4 separate regions of the Homo sapiens genome follow, and regions 1, 3 and 4 are each linked to region 2. The links are contacts of gene promoters, found by promoter capture Hi-C in blood cells and fetal thymus (Javierre and others, 2016). All regions are on one chromosome and are shown on one strand. The core of a region is centred on a gene start or on the middle of the fragment in contact, and the rest is flanking DNA. Distances in the headings are between cores, read along the strand shown. Region 1 overlaps PHF20 (PHD finger protein 20). Region 2 holds the start of CEP250-AS1 (CEP250 antisense RNA 1). Region 3 overlaps PHF20 (PHD finger protein 20). Region 4 overlaps PHF20 (PHD finger protein 20).

The links. Contacts are between HindIII fragments. The CHiCAGO score rates a contact against its expected background, and 5 or more counts as called.
Region 1: a fragment that was not itself captured here is called in contact with the fragment with the promoter of CEP250-AS1 in region 2 in 1 of 17 cell types (erythroblasts); the score reaches 5.3 in erythroblasts.
Region 3: a fragment that was not itself captured here is called in contact with the fragment with the promoter of CEP250-AS1 in region 2 in 1 of 17 cell types (naive B cells); the score reaches 5.2 in naive B cells.
Region 4: a contact is called between a fragment that was not itself captured here and the fragment with the promoter of CEP250-AS1 in region 2, in 2 of 17 cell types (activated CD4 T cells and naive CD4 T cells). The highest score is 5.1, in activated CD4 T cells.

Annotation. Positions count from the first base shown.
Region 1 is chr20:35,942,620-35,949,301 of GRCh38, reverse strand. PHF20 (PHD finger protein 20) reads right to left here. Exons shown (of 18, transcript NM_016436.5): 18 at 1-1,817. The coding sequence ends at 1,675. Among named protein-coding and RNA genes, the nearest start is that of SCAND1, 8.5 kb to the left of the region's middle. The HindIII fragment of the contact is 1,890 bases long and covers 4,282-6,171 here.
Region 2 is chr20:35,486,742-35,493,153 of GRCh38, reverse strand. CEP250-AS1 (CEP250 antisense RNA 1) reads left to right here and starts at 2,172. Exons shown (of 3, transcript NR_184017.1): 1 at 2,172-2,298. CEP250 (centrosomal protein 250) reads right to left here. Exons shown (of 35, transcript NM_007186.6): 21 at 2,350-2,517; 22 at 1,808-1,942. RefSeq lists an enhancer at 2,214-2,373. The HindIII fragment of the contact is 5,140 bases long and covers 1-3,480 here.
Region 3 is chr20:35,860,651-35,866,599 of GRCh38, reverse strand. It overlaps PHF20 (PHD finger protein 20), which reads right to left. Exons shown (of 18, transcript NM_016436.5): 6 at 3,200-3,587. Among named protein-coding and RNA genes, the nearest start is that of SCAND1, 91 kb to the left of the region's middle. The HindIII fragment of the contact is 4,740 bases long and covers 1-4,330 here.
Region 4 is chr20:35,893,629-35,899,626 of GRCh38, reverse strand. PHF20 (PHD finger protein 20) reads right to left here. Exons shown (of 18, transcript NM_016436.5): 10 at 1-257. Among named protein-coding and RNA genes, the nearest start is that of SCAND1, 58 kb to the left of the region's middle. The HindIII fragment of the contact is 6,235 bases long and covers 1-5,650 here.

The DNA of each region.
Region 1 (6,682 bases), core at 3,977-6,476, 450 kb before region 2:
CAGAACTCTTACAATGCAGCTGTCTGAACGTGCATGCCATGCACGCCTGTGCATTTCTTCCCACGCCAGAAACACCAACGTTAGCAGTGAGAAACAGCCTCTTGTAGAGGAATCGTCGTTTTGTTATAGATGTTATAGCCACGTGTATTCTCTCTGATGGACAGCTATAGCAGATCAGCTTATACTTGTCCTATAATTCATTATATATCAAATGGTGAGCAAATCACTAGACAGAACATTCCCTGAAATAGATTTTAGTACAGAGGCCTGAATTCATGTCCACAATGACCTGTGCTTAACTATTCCAAAGGTCGCTAAAGATACTGTTACTACTATTGAGATATTATTGGCTACTTCACGTTTACATAGTAAATGTTTGCAGCATATAACATTACAGACTCATAAACCCATAATTAACTTATAAGTGTTAATGGACAACTGTGCTTTGATTTTTGCCTTTAGTGATAAGAAAACAAAGTAGTGAAATGGGTCACTCCTCAAAGCATGGAACATTTTAACTTTGCCTAGTAAGGAAAAACAAAACAAAATATAGCAATTACATGTGGAACCGTAACCTGCAAAAGTAACACAAATATTGTCTCAAAAGGTACAAATAGGTTGTACCTGGACCTTAAGCAGCATGATCACCTTGCTCTCACAAAATAATACAAACAGGAAATGTAAAATGTTAAAGTATAGTAACAAAACAATTCTGAAAACGCTGACTACTAAACACCCTTCAGGAAGGAGAAAAGTCGCACATGTAGAATTTGAAGTTTGTTTACAACAATATAAAATAAGGTAATTCCCCAAACCACATTCTTTGTAACAAATCTTTACAGTGAAAGAGTTTGAAATTTTGGGAAACATTTTTGGACATTAAATAGAACGGGGAAGCTGTCAATATTAAGAAGTGGGTAGAAAATGCTGTCCTTTGGGTTCCAGACCCTGCCTGCTTCGGTTTGGAATTCCTCCTAGATTCTTATTACTGTGAGTGAGATTCTAGTTCTTCCATAGGCTGTATGGGCTCTGCTACAAAAGCCATAACCCAGCCAGCTCTGGGGTGAAGGCATACAAACTTGTCCCCAGTACCATGAAGTCATGCAAGAGATGTGGTGAGAAAAGTGAAGAGTCCTAAGGAGAAAGCAGGGCAGCCAAGACTCTGCTCTTTCCCAACCTCCACAGCATGGTGAGCTCACAATATTCCTATGAAGCTAGAAAAGGAAAATGATGCCTGCTGCCCAAACACCATGCCAGGAAGAAACCAGGGAGTTGGCATGTGCCCCAACGTGATAGAAAAGTCAATTAAATAAACTCCAAATTGAATTTACAACTGTCTCCAACTAAACTTTTTTGGCTCTCATTCCGTTTATCATCAGTGGCACAATTTCAAGTGAAGTTTGTGCAAAAAGACTCTCTTCATTCAACGATGTGCACAGAAGAGGGGAATCCCAAGAGTCTATTTGCTACCTTTATGGCAGGCTTCGAGATCAGAGTGTCCTCCCGCAGCCAAAATGGCCTCTTTGTCCAATGTCCACCACACTCCTGGCCCAGATCCCTGAAGTCAGTCGGTGTCACGTGCATTCAGCATGCTAGGTTTATTTATTTAAATATGCGAAGCTCCTCCTGCAGGTGCCCCAGGATTGTGCCCCCATGAGTTTTGGGTGCCCAGTTTCATGTTGAGCAGCAGAGGGCGATCTGCTGCACCTTGCCCAGGTCCATCAGCAGCTGCTTGATACAATGCTTGAGCTGCGGAAGCCTGGCCAGCGGCTCAGGGGGCTCCAGTTCCCCAGTGTAGTCCAGCCAGCTCTCCAACACTGTCGGCAGAAGAGAGAGATGAGACCTAGTGAACTCCCAACACTTGATTTGCAAGAACATCAGCAAGCATTTCAGCACCTTATTCCATCAGACATGGGGCAAGGGAGGAAGGGCCATTTCAGCCTCCATGGGGCAAGGGAGGAAGGGCCATTTCAGCCAGCACTGTGTCAACACCTGCTCTACAAAGTGGTACTCCCAGGACAAAACACAAATGCTTTAGAGCAGCACAGTCCAAAAGAACTTTCTGCGATGATCAATGGTCCAAGTCTGTGTCATCCAATACAGTAGCCACTAGCCTTATGCAGCTATTGAGCGCTGGAAACATGGCTAATGCAACTGAGGAACTGAATTTTAAATTTTATTCAGTTTTGGTTAAACAGCCACACATTGCCAGAGGCTACTGTTACCAGAGTCTAGAAGTCTTGGAAGGAAGCACCTTTCTGAGTGTTACCACTCACTCTTTAAAAAGCTTTCCCAGCCGGGCGCGGTGGCACATGCCTATAATCCCAGCACTTTGGGAGGTCGAGGCGGGCAGATCACAAGGTCAAGAGATCAAGACCATCCTGGCCAACATGGTGAAACCCCATCTCCACTAAAAATACAAAAATTAGCCAGGCATGGTGGTGCCCGTCTGTAGTCCCAGCTACTCAGGAAGCTGAGGCAGGAGAATTGCTTGAACCCGGGAGGCGGAGGTCGCAGTGAGCCGAGATCGTGCCACTGCACTCCAGCCTGGCGACAAAGCGAGACTCCATCTCAAAAAATAAAATAAATAAAATAATAAAATAAAATAAAATAAAATAAATAAAATAAAATAAAATAAAATAAAATAAAAAATAAAAAGCTTTCCCATGTTGAAAATCAGAGAGCCTGGTGTTTTAGCATCCTGTCAAGAAAAATGAAAATCTATAGGGTCTTGAAAAGGTCTATTTGTATATCATAAACTCTGATTTGCTTCATATTAATTCCTGATTGATACGCAATCATCAGTGGCACAGAATACTCTGTTATTATTTTCTCCCTTTATTTATTTACTTATTTATTTATTTTTTTGAGATGGAGTCTCACTGTGTCGCCCAGGCTGGAGTGCAGTGGCGCCATCTCAGCTCACTGTAATCTCTGCCTCCTAGGTTCAAGCGATTCTCCTGCCTCAGCCTCCAAAGTAGCTGGGATTACAGGCATGTGCCACCACGCCCGGCGAATTTTTGTATTTTGGTCTCAAACTCCTGACCTCAGGTGATCCACCCACCTCGGCCTCCCAAACTGCTAGGATTACAGGCATGAGCCACTGGGCCTGGCCTTTTTTTTTCTTTTGAGACAGAGTTTCGCTCTTGTTGCCTGGGCTGGAGTACAATGGCAATGATCTCGACTCACTGCAACCTCCGCCTCCCGGGTACAGGCGATTCTCCTGCCTCAGCCTCCTGAGGAGATGGTATTACAGGCACACACCACCACGCCTGGCTAATTTTTGTTATTTTTAGTAGAGATGGGGTTTCATCATGTTGGCCAGGCTGGCCTCGAACTCCTGACCTCAGGTGATCCACCTGCCTTGGCCACTTTGAAAGTGCTAGGATTACAGGCATGAACCACCATGCAGGACCCCTTTAAATATTTAATGTAAGATTTCAGGTATTAATTAACATTATCATCATTGGTTCAATATCTAGAAAGCTGTCTTGCTTGTGAGAACAAGTATTTCTCTACAGAAAGATGTTTGTTCTTCCCTAAGCTACCCCCTAAAGCTCTGGCATTTGGGGAGAGACCATCTGGGAACCCTGCACCTTTGACAAGAACCACCCCCTGCAGGTAGCCCCTGTGCTATCCCAGCCTGCCTGTAGCCTTTCTAGTCCATGCACCAACCTGTACTGAGCACCTTCTGGACCCTGGAGTGCAGCAAAAGAAAGGCCCACCCAGTACCTCTTCATCAAGCAGCCTGCAACCTACTGCGCAATCCTCTCCTGTCCTCAGATGCAGCCCTACCTTCCTCTCCACCTTTCTAAATCCTCTGTTTCTTGTGAGCTATTCTTTAGGGAAGCCTTCCCCAACCCTATACCCTGAATCTGGTCCTTGTGTTACAGGTGCTATGATATCACATGTTCTCCTTTGAGCATTTACTATGGTTTGTCATTACAGGTAATGGGATGATTTGTTTAATATATGTCTCTCCCACTAGATCAAGTTCCACGAGGGCAAAGGCTGAGTCTGCCTTGCTTGCCACTATATCCCTAACACTCACCTGTGTCTGAAATGTGGCAAGCCTGCAACAAACACAGCGAGAGAAGGAATGTGTGGTCCAGCAAAGCGCCCTACCCATTGCTCTGGGCCCTATGTAGTTTATCCTCCTCCATCATATTTCTTGTTGGTATTTGGGGGTTCCAAGAAGGAGGAACCCTCTCTCTTCCTAATTCCAGCAAGTACAAGGACTTGGAAATAAGAAAAATAAGACCACCTCCTCAGACTTAAGCTTGAAAACCATTAGTAAAAGATCAGTCATGTGAGAGGAACTAGTGGCCTGCTGAGCAAGAAAACTGGATAGTGACCAGTTTCAAAACACCAGTAAGTCTTTAAAAAAAACTAGAAGGAGACAGGGGACTGTTCAGCAAACAGGCAGAAGAATAAATGGAGAGGCCGGACGTGCACGCCTGTAATCCCAACACCTTGGGAGGTCAAGGGAGGTGGATCACCTGAGGTCAGAAATTCAAGACAAGCCTGGCCAACATGGTGAAACCCCATCTCTATTAAAAATACAAAATCAGCCAGGTGTGGTGGCAGGCATCTGCCTGCTACTTGGGAGGCTGAGGAAGGAAGAGTCGCTTAAACCTGGGAGGCAGAGGCTTCAGTAAGCCGAGATCATGCCACTGTACTCCAGCCTGGGCGAGAAAGAGCAAGACTCCGTCTTAAAAAAATAAAATAAAATAAAAATAAATAAATGGACAAAAGGCAGTCAGGACTGGATGGGTCACTCCAACAGCAAAGAGAGTCAGTCAATCTTTTGCAAGATGATCCTACAGTTGCTGAGAGGCCCCTCTTAAGGTCACCCTAACTACCTTGGATCTAGTTCCAGGCTCACCAAAGACATCCCGATACTACGGTGGCCCAGGAGGCATGCACAGTGTGAAAGCGCACCAACGCTCAGACTGGAAGAGTCTAAGCCACTCAGTAGTGCCTGAGCTTGGTTAACAGGAGTGTGTGGAGTTCCTGAGATGGAAGCTGTCTGTCTAGGTCTGTTAGGCTGAAGAACAAAGCCAGGACTGTGGGAAGTCAACAGCATCTCCTCTGGACCCCAGCATCCAGCAGGCCACCCTCTCCATACCATGTGCTGCACCATCCCAAGTGTCTCTTTTAAAGATGCAGAACAGCTTCCAACTAGCATAGTGGTTGCTAGCAAGACAGAAGGTTACAGAGGAAAAAATTCTGTTCAAATACACTAAGATCATGTGTATAGAGACCACTGCTCACCAAGGCAACATTTTTTATTTAAGAAAATAATCTCTCTAATGCCAAAAGACTTTTTTACTTTTCATGGTCATTAAATATCCTTTGTCTTTTAGTTTTAAAGTACTGTTCAGGCTGGGTGCAGTGGCTCACACCTGTAATCCCAGCACTTTGGGAGCCCGAGGCAGGCAGATCATGAGGTCAGGAGATCGAGACCAGCCTGGCCAACATAGTGAAACCCCGTCTCTATTAAAAATACAAAAATTAGCCAGGCATGGCGGTGTGCACCTATAATCCCAGCTACTCGGGAGGCTGAAGCAGGAGAATTGCTTGAAGCCAGGAGGTGGAGGTTGTGGTGAGCCGAGATCGTGCCACTGCACTCCAGCCTGGGCAACAGACCGAGACTCCGTCTCAAAAATAAATAAATAAATAAATAAATAAAGTACTATTCATATAACTACATAAATAATTAAATAATGGCCAATTGTAAAACAATGGCATATATATATATATATTTCATATAATAGCTTACTAGGCTTTTTTTTTTTTTTTTTTAAAGAAATGGGGTCTTGCTCTGTCACCCAGGCTGGAGTACAGTGACACGATCATAGCTCACTGTAACCTTGAACTCCTTGGCCTCCCAAAGCACTGGGATTACAAGTGTGAGCCACCACGCCAGGTCAGCTTTTAAATTTTTTTAAATTTTTTATTTTCAGACTGAGTCTCACTCTGTTGCCCAGTCTGGAGTGCAGTGATATGATCTCAGCTCACTGCAACCTCCGCCTCCTAGATTCTGCTGCTTCAGCCTCCCAAGTAGCTAGGATTATACGTGTGCACCACCACACCCAGCTAAGCAGGCCGGCTTTTTAAAAAAGGAATGTTACATCCAAATTCCTATTTTAAAACTTGGTTATGAAAGCTTAGTTTAGGGCTGGGTACGGTGGCTCACGTCTATAATCCCAGCACTTTGGGAGGCCAAGGTGGGCGGATCATGAGGTCAGGAGATCGAGACCATCCTGGCTAACACAGTGAAACCCTGTCTCTACTAAAAATATAAAAAATTAGCCGGGCCTGGTGGCGGGCACCTGTAGTCCCAGCTACGCGGGAGGCTGAGGCAGGAGAATGGCGTGAACCCGGGAGGCGGAGCTTGCAGTGAGCTGAGATGGCACCACTGCACTCCAGCCCGGGCAACAGAGCGAGACTCCATCTCAAAAAAAAAAGAAAGAAAGAAAGCTTAGTTTATCTTGGTGTTTAAATAAAGAGTTGATTCCATAAAAAGGGATTTTGATTAATCTTAAATACTATGCAAAAGTCTGTTTACCTAAATAAAATCTTTAAGCTTTATCATTTATTTTAATGCTTTCTTGTTATCTCTCTCAGGGCCTAGAGTCTTAGAAATGTACAGAATATGTGGCTCTGAATTAGCAAGACA
Region 2 (6,412 bases), core at 923-3,422:
AAAACACACACACACTATTCTCTACTCAGGAGAGTAGAGAATACATATACATATATGTATATACATATGTATACGTATATATAAATAAATCATATCCCACCCCTGCTTTTTAAATACCATCCAACTGCCCAGGCGCGGTGGCTCACGCCTATCATCCCAACACTTAGGGAAACCAAGGTGGGTGGATCACTTGAGGTCAGAAGTTTGAGACGACCCTGGCCAACATGGTGAAACCCTTTCTCCACTAAAAATACAAAAATTAGCCAAGCATGGTGGCGGGCACCTGTAATCCCAGCTACTTGGGAGGCTGAGGCACAAGAATTGCTTGAACCTGGGAGGCGAAGGTTGCAGTGAGCTGAGATAGTGCCACCGCACTCTAGCCTGGGTGACAGAGCGAGACTCAGTCTCAAACAAATACATACATACATACCACCCAACAGTTTCCCATTGCTCTTAGAACAAAATCCAAGCTCCTACAATGGCTGACACAGGGCTTCTGGCTACCGCTCCACTCGCCCCTGAGTTTATCAAGCTGGAGCCACACTGCCTCCTTTTTGTCCTTGAACTTCCCAAGCCCTCTTCTGTGTCCCAGGGCCCTTGCGACAGGTGTTTCCTCTGCCTAAAGTGTTCTTCACATGGCAGGCATTTTTTTTTTCAAATGGCTTGAGATATAACTCATATACCATACAATTCACTCATTTAACGTATACTGTGTAGTGGGTTTTAGGATATTCACAGAGTTGTGCAACTATCATCGCAATCAATCTTAGAACATTTCCATCAATCCCAAAATAAACCCCGTGCCCATTCACAGTCAATCCCCATTCCCCACCCCATTCCCCACCATAAATCTGTTTTCTGCCTCTATAGAGTTGCCTATTCTTGGTGTTTCATATAAATGGAAGCATATCATATAAAATATATGGCTCTTCCACTTAACCTGATGTTTTCAAGGTTCACCTATGTTGTATCACGGAGCTGGTTTCTTTCTAACCTTCAAGTCTCAGCTCAGATGTTACTTTCTCAGTGAGGCCTTCCCTGACCACTAAGTGCAAAGTGAACCTCCTTTGACTCACTCTCAGTTGTATCATTCTATTTCCTTTACAGCACTTATCACAAACTGTAATAATCTCATTTACTTTGTGTCTGCTCATTTGTCATCCATTTCTGCCACAGGAATGTAAGTTCCTTGAGAGCAGGGGCAATGTCTGTTATGCTGACTGCTGTGCCACACCTTTTTTTTTTTTTTTTTTTTTTTGAGACTCGCTCTATCACCAAGGCTGGAATGCAGTGGCGTGACCTCGGCTCACTGCAACCTCCGCCTCCTGGGCTCAAGCTATTCTCCTGCTTCAGCCTCCCAAGCAGCTGGGATTACAGGCAAATGCCACCACACACAGCTAATTTTTGTATTTTTGTAGAGATGAGGTTTCACCATGTTGGCCAGGCTAGTCTCGAACTCCTGACCTCAACTGATCTGTCCGCCTCAGCCTCCCAATGTGCTGGGATTACAGGGGCCTGCCACCATGCCCGGCTAATTTTTGTATTTTTAGTAGAGATGGGTTTCACCATGTTGCTCAGGTTGGTCTTTAACTCCTGACCTTAGGTGATCCACCCACCTTGGCCTGCCAAAGTGCTGGGATTACAGGCGTGATCTACCCTGCCCAGCCTGTGCCATACCTTTATGTACTTGTCATATGTCAGCACCTAGCACAGGGCCTGGCACATAAGAAGTGCCCAAGAACCCTTCATGGTCGAATGGGTAAATGAGTGCCCCTTTCTCCCCTACTCCCGAGACCACCCTCCATACCTGCTCCTTTAATTTCTGGACTTTCATGTCCTGCCTCAGTCGTTCCAGTTGTTGGCTGGCATCTGCTAGCTCCTTCTGCGTCTGCAGCAGTGTCTCCAGGAGGGATACTCTCTCCTTCTCTGTTTCCAGCTGCATCTGTGGAGGGGTAGGGGGGTAACAGCTTGTGGGCTCAGGATTACCATGCTCACCAACGAGGCCACAAGCACATCCCAGCTGCCCTAGGGCTCTCCTAGCAAATGGGAAGGGGCTGAGGGCAAAGGAAGGTCTGAGCCCATGGGTTCAGAACAAGGAAGTGCAAAGATTACCACTGGTTTGCAAGCTGACAGGATGTGGTACATGTCAGCCCTCCCTCAGGAAGTATGACATACTGCCGGAACTGTGGCTAATGGTGCGGACCACCCTGCTCACTGTTAGCAAAGTGGGTAGCTACCCTCTCTTCTGGAAGCCCCTCTGCAGCACTCCTCTTGGGAGTAGAAAAGGAAGTGGTCAAGGTAAGGAGATCGCTGACTGGACGTGCAGCTCCAATCCTCCTAGCTTCCCACCTGGCATAGGGCACTCTCTGCCTGGGTCCGTTCTTCTTCCCTCTGGGCCTGGATGGCCTCCATTTCTGTCTGCTGCTCCTTTAGCCTCATTTCCAGCTCCATTTTTTCCCTTTCTAAGCTCTCCAGAGCCTTTGCCAGCTCCTGCTGGTGCCAGGAGCGCTCCTTCTCCTGGCCACATGAAGGAAACACCATTAGAACCAAATGGGTGAGGAGGGGAGGCAGGGGTACTGGATTGGAAAAACAAAGTCTCTCTACTACTCACTAGTGGGGTGACCTTGGTACCTCTCTAAGCCTGTTGCCTCATCTGTAAAGCAAGGCTAATATTCCCTGCCTTATCTATCTTACCAAATTTCATGACAACCAAATGAGATTCATTTTAAAAAATAAAATTATATAATACATGTGGAAGTACCTTCCAAACTGCAATTGTCCCTTATATATGCTACAAGTATCTGGGTTTTAAAATGTATTTCTATTTTTAATTTTTTTTTGGAGACGGAGTCTTGCCCTGTCACCCAGGCTGGACTGCAGTGGCACGATCTCCGCTCACTGCAACCTCCACCTTTCAGGTTCAAGTGATTCTCCTGTCTCAGCCTCCCTAGCAGCTGGGACTACAGGTGCCCCCCACCATGCCCAGCTAATTTTTGTATTTTTAGTAGAGATGGGGTTTCAACATGTTGGCCAGGCTGGTCATGAACTCCTGACCTCAAGTGATCTGCCTGCCTCGGCCTCCCAAAGTGCTGGGATTATAGGCATGAGCCACTGTGCCTAGCCTAGGCATTCTTATTTTTAGAGATGGGGTCTCACTATGTTGCCCAGGCTGGACTCGAACTCCTGGGCGCAAGTGGTCCTCCTGCCTCAGCCTCCTGAGTAGCTAAGAACACAGGGGCATGACACCACACACAGCTCCGTATTTGTTATCTTTAAAGCAGCCACATTGTGGTTGACAGTTGTAACAATGAACTGAGGCGGCCAATTCTGGCTGTCTGCTGCCTGCTCTCCTCTACTCAGAGTTGCAGAGTTAGCCCCTGAAGAATCAGGCCTGGCCCAGTGAGGATGTCTCCCTGTATTATATAAGAGCATTAGGATAGGGGTGCTTCTTGTCTTAGCGGTCTTCCAGCAACCAAAGCTTTCCCAAGCTCTCTGACTAGTTCAGGACCCTCTATTAGGTGTACAGGATAGAGGTGAAGGGCTCTGGAGTTGGGCTGCCTGGGTGGAGAATCTTTAATCTACCACTACTAGCATGATCTCAATTTCTAAACAACTCTGTGCCTCAGTTTCTTCATCTATTAAAATGGGGATAACAACAGTGTCATTCTCCTCAGGTTGTATTGAGGATGGAGATAAGTCATGTGAATCACTTTAAATGTGCGTAGCACACAGAAAGCGGGCAATACACAACAGCCAGCATCATCATCACATTAGTATTCCCTGCACTTTTCCTTTAAAATGCTTGTAAGTTTGTCGTTGCTTATTCATGTAATGGGAACGCCTCTAGTGTTTCAGCCTTCCCAGTGTCATCCTGTGCAGCTTTCCCCCTCATTCACTACACCCTGGCTACACACACTTGCCTCCTTGCAGGTCCTTGAGCACACTAAGCACTTTTTTTTTTTTTTTGAGACAGAGTCTCACTCTATCGCCCAGGCTGGAGTGCAGTGGGGTGATCTCGGCTCACTGCAACCTCTGCCTCCCAAGTTCAAGTGATTCTCCCGCCTCAGCCTCCCAAGTAGCTGGGATTACAGGCGCCCGCCACCACTCCCAGCTATTTTTTTTGTATTTTTAGTAGAGACATGGTTTCACCACGTTGGCCAGGCTGGTTTTGAACTCCTAACCTCAAGTGATCTGCCCGCTTAGGCCTCCCAAAGTGCTAGGATTACAGGTGTGAGCCACTGCACCCAGCCAACATGTTCATGCCTTAGAGCCTTTACTCATGCTTCCTTCTACCTGGAAAGCCCTTCTCCCCCCTACTCCATCATTCCTCACGCCTAAACTAACACTTCCTTGGTGAAGCCTTCCCAGACCATACAATTGACAGTGGTCTGGCTGGACGTGGTAGTTCACATATATTATCCCAACATTTTGCGAGGCCGAGGTAGGATGATCACTTGAGCCCAAGAGTTTGAGACCAGCCTAGGCAACATGGTGAAACCCCTTATCTACAAAAAATGCAAAAATTAGTCAGGTGTGGTGGTTCACTCCTGTGGTCCCAGCTACTTGGGAGGCTGAGGTAGGAGGATCACTTGAGCCCAGGAGGGCCTTGAGGGTGAGGCTGCCGTTAAGCCCTGATCACGCCACTGCACTCCAGCCTGGGCAACAGAGCAAGACCCTGTCTCAAAAGAAATAATAATAATAAAAAGAAAAAAAAGAGGTCTTCCTTTGTTCTTCCTTATAAAACCCGGCAATGTGTAATGTCAGTTACAGGACAGTCATGAATGACAAATCATTTTACCCTCTGGTTCAAAAAGCCAAAGACAGCGGGTATAGCTCAGTGGCAGAGTATGTGACTGCAAAAAGCCAAAGCCAACTGTAAAAATATGAAAAAGATGAATGTTAATAGCAGTTGCAAGTGTTAAAAAAACTGATCTATTTGCTCTATGTGAGTTAGAAGTGTGTTATAGCTACAAGAAGAGCTAATTCTGTGATGTGTAGGAAGTAACAGTCCAGCATTGCTGGTATGACCATGAACAGAATATTCTGCCCAGTTCAAAGTGCCACCTTTACACCACTGGGACATGAGTAAATTGTAACATGCCTAGAAGAAAGCAACCATGTTGGTGGGGTATTTCAAGCAAATCTAAGGCTCATTTGTTCCTGGTAATAGGTTTTGGTTCAACATGAATTTCCTAATAACTAGATCTATCTAAAATAAATGGGCAGCCAAGTGATGGAATACAATAGCAGCTAAGCAACCATTTGGAAGGGACATTACAGAGGTGGATAAAAAAGAAATGGTTAGGAGTTTGGGCCCTGAATCCCTTTTCTACCCCTTATTAGCCATGTAACCCTGACTTCTCTTTTTATATTTTATTTATTTAGAGATGGGGATCTTGCTATGTTGCCCAGGCTGGTCTCGAACTCCTGGCCTCTAGCGATCCTTTCGCCTTGGCCTCCCAAATTGTTGGAATTACAGGTGTGAGCCACCACGCCCAGCCCTGAGTGACTTCTCCATGCATTTATTCACCTTTATTGTGTGAATAAAGCATTCAGCATGGTGCTTGGCATGGGGAGGTGCTTAACAAGTGTCCAATATCATTACTCTTAAAGGGGAGACAGACAGTAGATGGAAGAATAAAGAATACAACTGCCAAGAGTGTTTCTTTTTCTTTTTTTTCTTTGAGACAGAGTCTCACTCTGTTGCCCAGGCTGGAGTGCAGTGGTGCGATCTTGGCTCACTGCAACCTCCACCTCCCTGGTTCAAGCAATTCCCCTGCCTCAACCTCCCAAGTAGCTGGGATTACAGGTGCATGCCACCACGCCTGGCTAATTTTTTTGTATTTTTAGTAGAGACGGGGTGTCACCAGGTTGGCCAGACTGGTCTCAAACTCCTGACCTTGGGCAATCCGCCCACCTCGGCCTCCCAAAGTGCTGGGATTACAGGTGTGAGCCACCACGCGCGGCCTCCCAAGAGTGCTTCTAATTGCCAGGATTCCAGGAGAAGGCAGTCACTGCTAAAACGAACAGGCTGTCGAGAGTTTTAAGAGGGCAGTTGACCTGCTCAATCATAGAGAAATAATAAAGTGGGACAATCAGAAGTCAGGAGGATTAGCTGAATGACAGAAAAGGAAAAGAGAGAAAAGGCCCTTTCATGACCCAGATATGGCCACTATAGTCAATCCTTTTAGGGAAACCAAGGCCACGTAGGTAGCTGGCTTATCATTCAGAAGTTTTATAGCATCTTTTATTTATGGAGTTTTCAGTACATGGTATACATCTGATTCCTGCTAGAATCAGTGTTCATTCAACAAATACTTTTAAGCACCGACTATAGACTAGGCACAGAATTCCAAAAATAAGCAAACTTCTGGTTATCATCTTGCCAATAAGCCTGCCTCATAATAACAAT
Region 3 (5,949 bases), core at 711-3,210, 370 kb before region 2:
GTTTACATTTTCCACCTCTCCTTGTATAATAACTGCCTTTAACTGCCCTTCTCCCACTTTACATAAAAGGGCCTGCCTCTCACTCATCCCACATCTTAACATGGTGCTCAGCCTGGAGGTTTAAAACTTCCAGATTTTCTCAACTGGGGTTCCCCATCTGAACAGAGATATATTTTCTCTGTTTTCCTAAGGGTGGTATACAGCTAGTACCATTCTCAATGCACTAAGGTCAATCCATCACAGATCAAGGATGCCTTGGGTATTGTGGCTTCTCTCCCAAAACTCAGTTGAGAAAGCCAGTGAACATAAAGTCAGTGCTGTCCAACAGAAATATACTAAGAGTGCAAGCCACATGTAATTTTATTTTATTTTATTATTTTTTGTTTTTTTGAGATGGAGTCTCGCTCTGTCACCCAAGCTGGAGAGCAGTGGTGCGATATCGGCTCACTGTAACCTCTGCCTCCTGGGTTCAAGAGATTCTCCTGCCTCAGCCTCCCAAGTAGGTGGGATTACAGGTGCATGCCACCACGCTCATCTAATTTTTGTGTTGTTAGTAGAGATGGGGGTTTCACCATGTTGGCCAGGCTGGTCTCGAACTCCTGACCTCAGGTGACCCACCCATGTTGGTCTCCCAGAATGCTGGGATTACAGGCATGAACCACCATGCCCGGCCAATTTTTGTATTTTTAGTGGAGACGGGATTTCACCATGTTGGCCAGCCTGGTCTCAAATTCCTGAGCCACCACGCCTGGCCAATTTTGAATTTTTTACTCATCACATAAGAGGGTTTGGTTTTTAAGTGCCAGGCATGGTGGCTCATGCCTGTAATCTCAGCACTTTCAGAGGCCAAGGCAGGATTGCTTGCTTGAGGCCCAGAGATTGAGACAAACCTGGGCAACATAGTGAAACCCTGTCTCTACAAGAAATAAATTAGCTGGGCATGGTGGCATGTGCCTGTAGTCCCAGCTACTCAGGAGGCTGAGATAGGAGCATCGCTTGAGCCTAGGAGGTGGAGAATGGAGTGAGCCACAATCACGCCACTGCACTCCAGCCTAGGTAACAGAGTGAGACCCTGTCAAAAAAAAAAAAAAAAAAAAAAAAACACAACTTAAAAAGTTAATTTAAATACTATTTTATTTAATCCAGTACTTTAAAAAAAATTTTTTTTTTAAACTGGGCTCAGCAACCTTCCTGCCTCAGACTCTGGAATCGCTGGGACTACAAGCACGTGCCACCACTCTCAGCCAATTTTTTCATTTTTTGTAGAGATGAGGTCTCACTATGTTGCCAAGGCTGGTCTCGAACTTCTGGACTCAAGTGATCCTCCCTCATCAGCCTCCCAAAGTGCTGGCATGATTACAGGGATGAGGCACTGCACCCAGCCTCTAAAAACATTTCAACATGGAATCAATTTTTTTTTGTTTTGTCGCCCAAGCTGGAATGCAGTGGCCCGATCTCAGCTCACTGCAACCTCCGCCTCCTGGGTTTCAAGCAATTCTCTTGCCTCAGCCTCCTGAGTAGCTGGGATTACAGGCACCCACCACCAAGCCTGGCTAATTTGTCTTTATATTTTTTCAGTAGAGACGGGGTTTCACCATGTTGGCCAGGCTGGTCTCAAACTCCTAACCTCAAGTAATCCACCCGCCTGGACCTCCCAAACCACTGAGATTACAGGCCCAGCCGTAATCAGTATTTTAAAATCGAGGTGTGTTACATTCTTTTTTTGAACTAAGTATTTGAAATCTAGCATTTACTTACACTTACAGCATATCTCAATTCAGACTAGCTACATTTCAAGTAGTCAATAGCCCCATGCAGCTAGTGGCTACCATACTAGACAGCAGAGGTCTAGGCCCTATTTAGGCCTACAGACAATTGCAGCACCCTCAGCTCTTGAGGGCAAAACCCAGTTACAAGCACTACAGGGAAAGATCCCTTATTTCATATAGAGACAAATCAACCTATTATATAATTTCCTATCTTACAATGAGTACTAATACACTTATGTGAAGTAAGTTAAATTTTTTTCCACAGAAATTAAGTCTGATAGTCTGATTTGATAAGGAAGACTGGCTTTGCATTCTCTACATCGTTAGGGAATAATGAAAAGGTTTGCTCTGTAGTTCCACAGTTTTGATGAAAATATTTGTGTGTGTGTGTGTGTGTGTGTGTGTGTGTGTGTGTGTGTGTGTTTTGAGATGGGGTGTCACTACATTGTCCAGGCTGGTTTGGAATTCTTGGGCTCAAGCAATCCTCCCACCTCAGCCTCCTGAGTAGCTGGGACAACAAACATGCACCAACGCACTCAGCCTTCATGTTTTGTATTTTAAATGTATCCACTGCAGCTATTTAAACTTGTGAGAAAAAGATAAATACTGCTTTAAAACGTGCTAGGGGATTCACAGTTTTTCAACTGAACACATAAAGAATGCACAATCAAGAATGTCTGAAGGTCACTGCACATATTAATCAATGGCAGGCTCAGTCCAGAGAACCGGGGGGGCCTCTTCATGCCATTGAATTGATTTGGAGAACGAGTGTTTGGCTTAGGAAGAAATCAGGGCTTGTTTCATTCTTGGTTATTCTAGAAGAATTCCAAATTTTAAGTTTTTTAATAACTGCATTCTTCCCTAAATCTATACCCTCTAACCTTGACTCTTACCAATTAGCCATCTCGGCTTTTTATTTAGACTGTGAAAATTTCTAATCAATAATCACTCTCCAAGGAGCTCAATTTCAAAATGCACCCATGCTTTTCTAGTTTCAATGTTCCTTTGTCCCCATCTCCTTCAGAAGCCCATACCTTTTTACTATTACTTTTCTTTCATGTCTGTCTCATTAAAACTCTATTTCCTGATTCTAGATTCTATTAAGCTGACTTAAACTGAGATCATTTGAAAAAGCATAAGCAAAAGGCCTCGGTTTATCAGGTTTTATCATATAAGCTGAAGTATCTAGTCAACAGTTAACCACTACTTTAGCAAACTCAGTTATGAACATGCTTCCCAACTTAGATTCACTTGGATATGTACCTCACTTAAATTCAGCTTCATGAACACAACTTGTTTCCAGATCATAAGACAATTCAAAATCAGTCACAAAAATAAACGATTGACGTACACAAGTTACAAAGAACCACAAAGGGCCACAGAAGAATACTCTGGCATTGCCCATTGCAGAGCCCACTTAAAAAACTCACCAGTAGGAGCTATGGAAGGGGGTCTGCCTCGTTTTCTTTTGGGTTCCCTCAAGTTTTCTTGTGGACTCTTCACAATGTCATTTTCAGGTTTCTTATCCACTTGGGCATCTCCAGAATACTCTCTGTCATTTTCGGAAATGTTTTCCTTGTCTTCCTTCTCGTTCTTGGGAAGACTTTTCTCTGACACTTTCCCCTTTTCAGAACAGATTAACTTTCCTTCTTTATCAGGCTGCTTGGGTCGCTTTTCTGTCTTTAAGGGTTTATCTTCTTTGTCTTTCTTCACATTCACTGTTGCTTTTCTCTGTTCTTTAAACTTCTCTCGTTTATCAGGAGATGATGAAAGACTTTTGTGATCTGTTTCTTTAGGCCTAGCATTACCCACAATATTCTAAAATGAGCAAAATAGCGATGAAACACTTCGTGATTACTTGCAAATACAAAATTAGGAGTTTCTTACAAACTTATGAAGACAAACAAAGAAATTAAAACAAGACATACGCCAGATCACATATACAAAGCACCACTGACAACAGCCACCTGTACTGAGTTGAGAACCAATCCTTAAACTTAAAACAATTCAATTATTCCGGAGACAGTGCAATCTCCCTTATTATGACGAATAAGTCACTAGAAAATAAAATTCTGGGTTTTTGTTTGTTTTTGTTTCTGAGACAGAGTCTCTCTCTGTTGCCCAGGCTGGAATGCAGTGGCACAATCATGGCTCATGCAGCCTCGACCTCCCAGGCCCAAGCGATCCTCCCATCTCAGCCTTCTGAGTAGCTGGGACCACAGGCATGTTTCACCACACCCAGCTAAGTTTTTTATTGTTATTTTTTGTAGCAATAGGGTCTCCCTATGTTGCCCAGGCTGGTCTCAAACTCCTGGGCTCAAGCAATCCTCCTGCCTCAGCCTCCTAAAGTATTGGGATTGTAGGCATGAGTCACCATGCCTGGCCTTAAAATTCTGGAAAGCAATCTTTCTGACAAAGGTGTTCGAAGAAAATGCCTTCATGCTCTGTCCTTATCCCCAGCATGACTATACTGACCCAGAGCTTTTCAGAGGCCTGGTTCAGTTTGCCAGCAAATGCTGATGTCTTGTCTATAGAAAAACAAAAACTGATAACTGGAAGCTTAACAGGAAAACTATAAAGATTATCCAACCCAGAACCAGGGTCTCTGCTTTCTCTATCAGGTAAAGGCTGTGCTCAGTTCAACAAGCCACCTACTATGTTCCTGAGCTACTTGGAGTTTTTGTCTATTGGTAGGAAATACCGCTTCTTAGTTATGTTCTCCCTAAATTACATTCTTTAAAATTCACACTAAAAATCGAGGGTCCTCTATTGTGACTGTTTCATAATAAGGCCAGGTCTGAAAGCTCTAGAGATTCCAAAACTATAATTAAGTTTATTTGTGTACATATCTCTCTTCTAGGACCTCAAAAGAGCAGAGACCACCATACTATGTTCATATGGGATGCCCAGCACCTAGCACACACTAGGCACATAGGTTTTCACTGGAAGCAGGAAGGAGTACCTAAATACTCAACAAATAAAAGTTTAATTTGTTCTACAGGGAAAAATAATAAACAAGGAAATATTTTTTCAAGTCCCCCAAACTATTCTGAAAGCAGCCAGGTTTGAGAACAGGCATTCTCGGTAACAGCCAGCAGAAATATAAACTGAAATTGCCCTTCTTGTTGGGAGTTCAGGGAGGAGATGGCAATTTGAGTCAAAACTAAAAAGGTTATACCTTTGAACTAGAATAAATTCCTAGAAATAAAATTAGCTAAAATAATAATCAGACTTGTGTACCTGGATTTACAAATATCCTTAATGACCATTTGGGAATTGGTTACACAAAGTAGTTACATACATATTACAGAATACTACATAGCTGTTAAAAATTATATTCTCAGAATATTAAGGAACATGGGGAAATGTTAGTTAAAAGAGCAGTACTATATTAATGTACCACAACTCCAATTTTGAAAATAAATAAATACACACACGTACGTTTAATAAAAAACACAGAAAGATGTATACATCAAATTGTTAAGTCAAGTTACACACCAAAACGTTAAGAACAATGATATCTGTTTGATGGAATTATAGTTTTTATTTTCTTTGTGCTTTGTACTTATATATTTTTCTACAGTAAACGTATTATAACTTCAAAAACATAAGTGTTACTAATATAGAGACTATCAAAACATTTATAAGGCAGTGCAGTCCTACAGAAAAAAAAAAAAAACTCAATCTATTCCAATAGTATACGAAAAACCTTTGAAATTGCCCATGACAGATAACTCTAGCCAAACCACTGTACCCTCTTGGAAAAGAAGCCAAGTCCAGGAGCCTTGGGCCTGTGCTTAAGGGCCTACCGGGCTAAGGTCAGACACTCAGAGGCCATTGGGAAATGAGAAATGAAGCATGGCACCCAGAAATCCTCACTGGGTAAGGCACCCACCTCCAAGCCAAAGCACTGTGAGTGCTATCCATCAATTTACTGAGTATCGCAGAGTAAACAGATGAACAATTGTTATCTAGAGCCCTGGACTTCCACTTGGGAAGGTTCTGGATATAACCTGCCAATTCTGGACAAGTTTATAATTCTGTCCTCTATATTAACTCGTTCTACAAACCTAACACAAAAATTGCCAAATTTAAGGCCAAAATAATGTTTTAGAGTACTGTATGGCTCCTTACATGCCAGAGAGACAAGTGAACAAAGAAAAAGCATCATCAGGGCCAA
Region 4 (5,998 bases), core at 1,284-3,783, 410 kb before region 2:
CTTCCTGGTCAGGGTCTCCTGGCTGGGCTTGTCTGAAGCTGAAGGGCCCCTGGTTTGGACATGCCTCTTTCCCGGGCTCTCTTCTGGCTCCAGTGACTTCTCCATTCCATGGAAATACTTCATGTGATAGTGCAACAGTTTGGCTTTGCGGAAAAATTTTAAACAGTCCACAACTTTGCATCTAAACTTATGGTCTAGGTCGACAGCTGGTGCATTAGATGACCCAAAATCATCTGTTTTCTTAAAAGTATTTGTTACTGAAAAAAATAAAAACAAAAGCAAAGGTTCCTTGTATTTATCCCAGTTATTACAAAACATGCATTAACACATGACAACTGAGGGTGAAAGACTAGCGTGCAAATGTAGCCTGAGACATCAGACTGCCATTACCTCCTCAAATTACTGTTTAGAGAGAATGAAAACAACTTCAGGTCAAATAAGACTCAATTGTGATTCATCTTTAGGAAGAAGAAATCAACATGTTTATTTTAAACAGTCGTACAAGTTTTCAGGGTTTCATATACTTTAAGGAAAAATCCTTAAAAAGATAAAAATAAAAATAAAAATAAAGGATCTCAGGTCAAGCAGAGCAGCTCACACTTGTAATCCTAGTACTTTGGGAGGCCAAGGCAGGTGGATCACTCGAGATCAGGAGTTCATGACCAGCCTGACCAACATGGTAAAACCCCATCTTTATTAAAAATACAAAAGAAATGGGCTGGGCATGGTGGTTCACACCTGTAATCCCAGCACTTTGGGAGGCCAAGGGAGGCAGATCGCCTGAGGTCAGGAGTTCGAGACCAGCCTGGCCAATATGGTGAAACCCTGTCTCTACTAAAAATACAAAAATTAGCCAGGCATGATGGCAGGTGCCTGTAATCCCAGCTACTTGGGAGGCTGAGGCAGGAGAATTGCTTGAACCCGGGAGGCGGAGGTTGCAGTAAGTCGAGATCATGCCATTGCACTCCAGCCTGGGAGACAAGAGCAAGACTTTGACTCAAACAAAAAACAAACAAACAAAAAAATTAGCCAGGCATGGTGGAGCACATCTGTAATTCTAGCTATTCGGGAGGCTGAGGCACGATAATTGCTTGAACCCGAAGGCAGAAGTTGCAGTGAGCTGAGATCATGCCACTGTGCTCCACCCTGGTCAACAGAGCCAGACTCTGTCTCAAAAAAAATAAAAAATAAATAAAATAAATAAAATCAAGGATCTCAAGCTAGCACTTATGAGTTGGATCAGACTTACATTTACTACCATCCTGGTACCTATCTGTGTGGACGGAAATAGGGAACATTCCTCAGTATCTCTCTATGAAACCTAAGAGATTTTACGTCAGTTTTTGTGCAAGGAAAGTGTAACAGTTACAAAGGTTTTAGTATTGAGTCTTTGAGATTTCAACACGTACTTTGTTTTACAATATACTTTGTCTGATCAAAAGGATCCAGATTTGGTGGGTGCAGTGGCTCACGCCTGTAATCTCAGCACTTTGGGAGGCCGAGGTGGGCGGATCACCTGAGGTCAGGAGTTCGGACCAGCCTGGACAACATGGTGAAACCCCATCTCTACTAAAAATACAAAAATTAGCTGGGCATGGTGGCACATGCCTGTAATCCCAGCTACTCGGGAGGTTGAGGCAGAAGAATCGCTTGAACCTGGGAGGCGGAGGTTGCAGTGAGCCAAGATCACACCACCGCACTACAGCCTGGGTGACAGAGCAAGACTCTGTCTCAAAAAACAAAACAAAACAAAAAAAAAACACCGGGCGTGGTGGCTCACACCTGTAATCCCAGCACTTTAGGAGGCCGAGGCAGGCAGATCACAAGGTCAGGAGATTGAGACCATCCTGGCTAACATGGTGAAACCCTGTCTCTACTAAAAATACAACAAAATTAGTCGGGCGTGGTGTCGGGCACCTGTAGTCCCAGCTACCCAGAAGGCTGAAACAGGAGAATGGCTTGAACCCAGGAGGCGGAGTTTGCAGTGAGCCGAGATCGCACCTCTGCACTCGAGCCTGGGCGACAGAGCAAGACCCCGTCTCAGAAAAAAAAAAAAAAAAAAAAAAAGGGATCCAGAATAGGAGGAATAAGTTCTAGCATTCTACAGCACTATGGGGGAACTATAATTAATAACAATTTATTGTATATTTTCAAATAGCTAGAAAAGCAGATTTTGAATGTTCTGAACACAAAGAAATAAATGCTCAAGGTGACAGATTTGCCAATTATCCTGATTTAATCATTATACATCGTATACATGTAAGGAAATATCACTGTACCACATGAATATGTAAAATTATTACATGTCAATTAAAAATAATAATAAATGAGGCCAAGGCAAGAGGATCACTTGAGGCCAGGATCCTCAAGACCAGTGTAGACAACTCAGCAAGACCCCATCTCTACAAAAAAAAAAATTTTGTTAATTAGCCAGGCATGATGGCATGTGCCTATAGTCCCAGCTACCCAGAAAGCTCAGGTGGGAGGATCCCTTGAGCCCAGCAGGTTGAGGCTGCAGTGAGCCATGACTGTACCACTGCACTCCAGCCTGGGCAACAAAGTAAGACCCTGTCTCAAAAATGTATGAATAACAATAATAATAAATGCAAAACAAACAACAACAAAAAGGACCCAGAGACTGCAAGAAAAACCAGCTAACTAAATGGAGGTGGAAGGCATAAGGAGGACTCATAGGACTCAATGATCAATTTCAAAGAGACAATAAAAGCATGACCCTAAAAGACAAATAAGCAGAAGGCAATAGTCGGTCAGGCACCAATGACAAAAAGTAAACCCATCACAAGGACTTTTTTTTTTTTTTTTTTTTGAGACGGAGTCTTGCTCTTTGTCCAGGCTGGAGTGCAATGGTGAGATCTCGGCTCACTGCAACCTCCACCTCCCCAGTTCAAGCGATTCTCCAGCCTCAGCCTCCTGAGTAGCTGGGATTACAGATGCCCACCACCACGTCCAGTTTTTTTTTTTTCATAGCTTTAGTAGAGACTGGTCCAGCCTGGTCTCGAACTCCTGACTTCAAGTGATCCGCCTGCCTCAGCCTCCCAGAGTGCTGGAATTACAGGTGTGAGCCACCGCCCCCAGGCCACAAGAACCTCTTGTGTGTTAGAAATGCAGTTTATTGAGGACTCCCTTTAGAATGTCTTCCCACCAACAAAAAATCACATTAAGTCATTCCTATGCTACAGATTTGGTCACCCAAGAATATATTATATTAAATGGATCTTTTTTTAAAAAATTAGGAATTCGGTATGCAATGAATGGCCCTTTCTTGAGTTAATCAGATTTTTCGTAAACACAATCACACAATCTCCACTGGAAGCAGGTAGCCTGTTAAACCTTTGGTAAGTATTATGATTACTTTTTCAAGTGTCATCCCATAATCAGAGGTAATTTTAAAACTCTTAAATTTGATCTAAATTATACTCTACACTTCAAAATTAGGTTTGGTTGTCTGAAGGATGCTGTTATAGAGCCAATTTAAACCAACAAAAACCTATACACACACACACACACACACACACACACACACATCCCAAAGCATAATGCCTTAAAATCACTTTCTACCTATAACAAGAGATATAAAAGATGCCAGATCAATTAGTTGCAGGTAAGAGAAGAAAAAGTTGGCCAGGCGCGATGGCTCACGCCTGTAATCCTAGCACTTTGGGAGACCAAGGCAGGCGGATCATATGACGTCGGGAATTCCAGACCAGCCTGGCTAACATGGTGAAACCCCATTTCCACTAAAAATATAAAAAATTAGCTGGGCGTGGTGGCATGCATCTATAATCCCAGCAACTCCGGAGGCTGAGGCAGGAGAATCACTTGAACCTGGGAGGCGAAGGTTGCAGTAGCTGAGATCGCGCCATTGCATTCTGGCTTGGGCAATAAGAGTGAAACTCTGTCTCAAAAAAAAAAAAAAAAAAAAAAGGAGAAGCAAAAGTGACACGATGTGAAACAGAATACACACTTCTCAGACAAATAATTGGACAGGAAAAGTATGTCAGTGGAGAAGTTCAAAACACAAAACTTTAATACATCCAATTCTTTCCTAAAACAAAAAATAGTTTATTTTGGAATATCCTTCCCTTGATCTATATTAGGTTAAATCATATAAACTTGCCATTTTGTAGGCTAAAAAAGACTAAGGCTGGAACCCTGTGCAGTGGCTCACGACTATAATTCCAGCACTTTGGGAAACTGAGGCGGGCAGATCACTTGCAGTCAGGAGTTCAAGACCAGCCTGGCCAACATGGCGAAACCCCATCTCTACTAAAATACAAAAATTAGCGGGGCACGGTGGCTCACACCTGTAATCCCAGCACTTTGAGAGGCTGAGGTGGGCAGATCACTTGAGGTCAAGAGTTTGAGACCAGCCTGGCCAACATGGTAAAACCTTGTCTCAAATAAAATTATAAAAATTAGCCAGGCATGGTGGCACATGCCTGTAGTCCCAGCTACTTGGGAAGCTGAGGTGGAAGAATTGCTTGAACCCAGGAGGCAGAGGTTGCAGTGGGTCAAGATCACGCCACTGTACCCCAGCCTGGGCGACAGAGCGAGACTTTGTCTCAAAAAAAAAAGAAGAAGAAAAATTAGCTGGGCATGGTGCGCGCCTGTAGATCCAGCTTACTCAGGAGGCCGAGGCAGGAGAATCACTTGAACCAGGAGGTCGAGATCGCAGTGAGCCGAGATTGTGCCATTGCACTCTAGCCTGGGTGACAAGAGTGAGACTCCGTCTCAAAAACAAAAACAAAAACTTGCACTCTTGTGTATACACAATGGTCATCTACATAAATCAAACAGTACAGGGGCTAAGTGTGGGTTCTGCAGCTGGACAGCCTATTTCAAAACCGAGTTCTTCCACCTACACCCCTTGCCTCAGTTTCCTCATGTGCAGGATGGAGACGATAATGGTAACAACTTCGCTGAGTTGTGAGAATTAAATAAATTACATGCAAAGAGCTTAGAAAGGTGTACGGCACATAAGTGCTCAATATTATCTACTATGACTATTCAATGTCATTTTAAATTTCAGGAATTAACCTGATCATAAGCAGAAGAGGGGAAGTGTCCACCACCCACAGCCTCACTGCATGCTCATGCCAGAGGCAGTATGGTATAGTACAAAAAGCACAACATTTAATCCCAGGTCTACCTTTCATTAGCAGCATAAATTAGCTGTGCAAGCTAGTCTAATTATCCAGATTCTTAAGGGAAGAATACCACCTATTTCAAAGATTTGGAGAAAAGGTTATGGATAATGTATGTACTTGGCACAAAGTAGGTGATCAACACATGGAAGCCATTATCATTTCAAATATAAAATACATCATAAGCAGGCTTATGTTATTTCTGGAACATGGCTGGAGACAGCTATTATAATTATCAACCAAGTGTGAAACATTTCTTCAACCAGTCTTCATATGCCCTGGCTGGGACGCATATCACCCTGAAAGCACTTCATTTCGTCTACGTCCTCCTGAAAGTGTGAAATTCAAAACCAACCACAAGGTTCCTAGTATGACTATTCACATTTCAGTGTGATTATTATCTCCACCTTTTGGGACATCTTTTACTATGACACCTAAAGATTTTCTTTTGTAATACTCTATACAATGCAGGATAGTACCAAGCTTGTTCCACCAAAATACTGAACATTGTTTTATCTTTTTAAAACATAAATAACAGTACATGTTGGCGGGGCACAGTGGCTCATGCCTGTAATCCCAGCATTTTGGGAAGCCAAGGCAGGCAGATCACCTGAGGTCAGGAGTTCAAGACCAGCCTGGCCAACATGGTGAAACCCCATCTCTACTAAAAATACAAAAAATTAGCTGGGCGTGGTGGCAGGTGCCTGTAATCCCAGCTACTCGGGGGGCTGAGGCAGGAGAATCACTTGAACCTGCTAGGTGGAGGTTGAAATGAGCTGCGATCACACCATTGCACTGCAGCCTGGGCAACAAGAGCCAAACTCTGTCTGAAA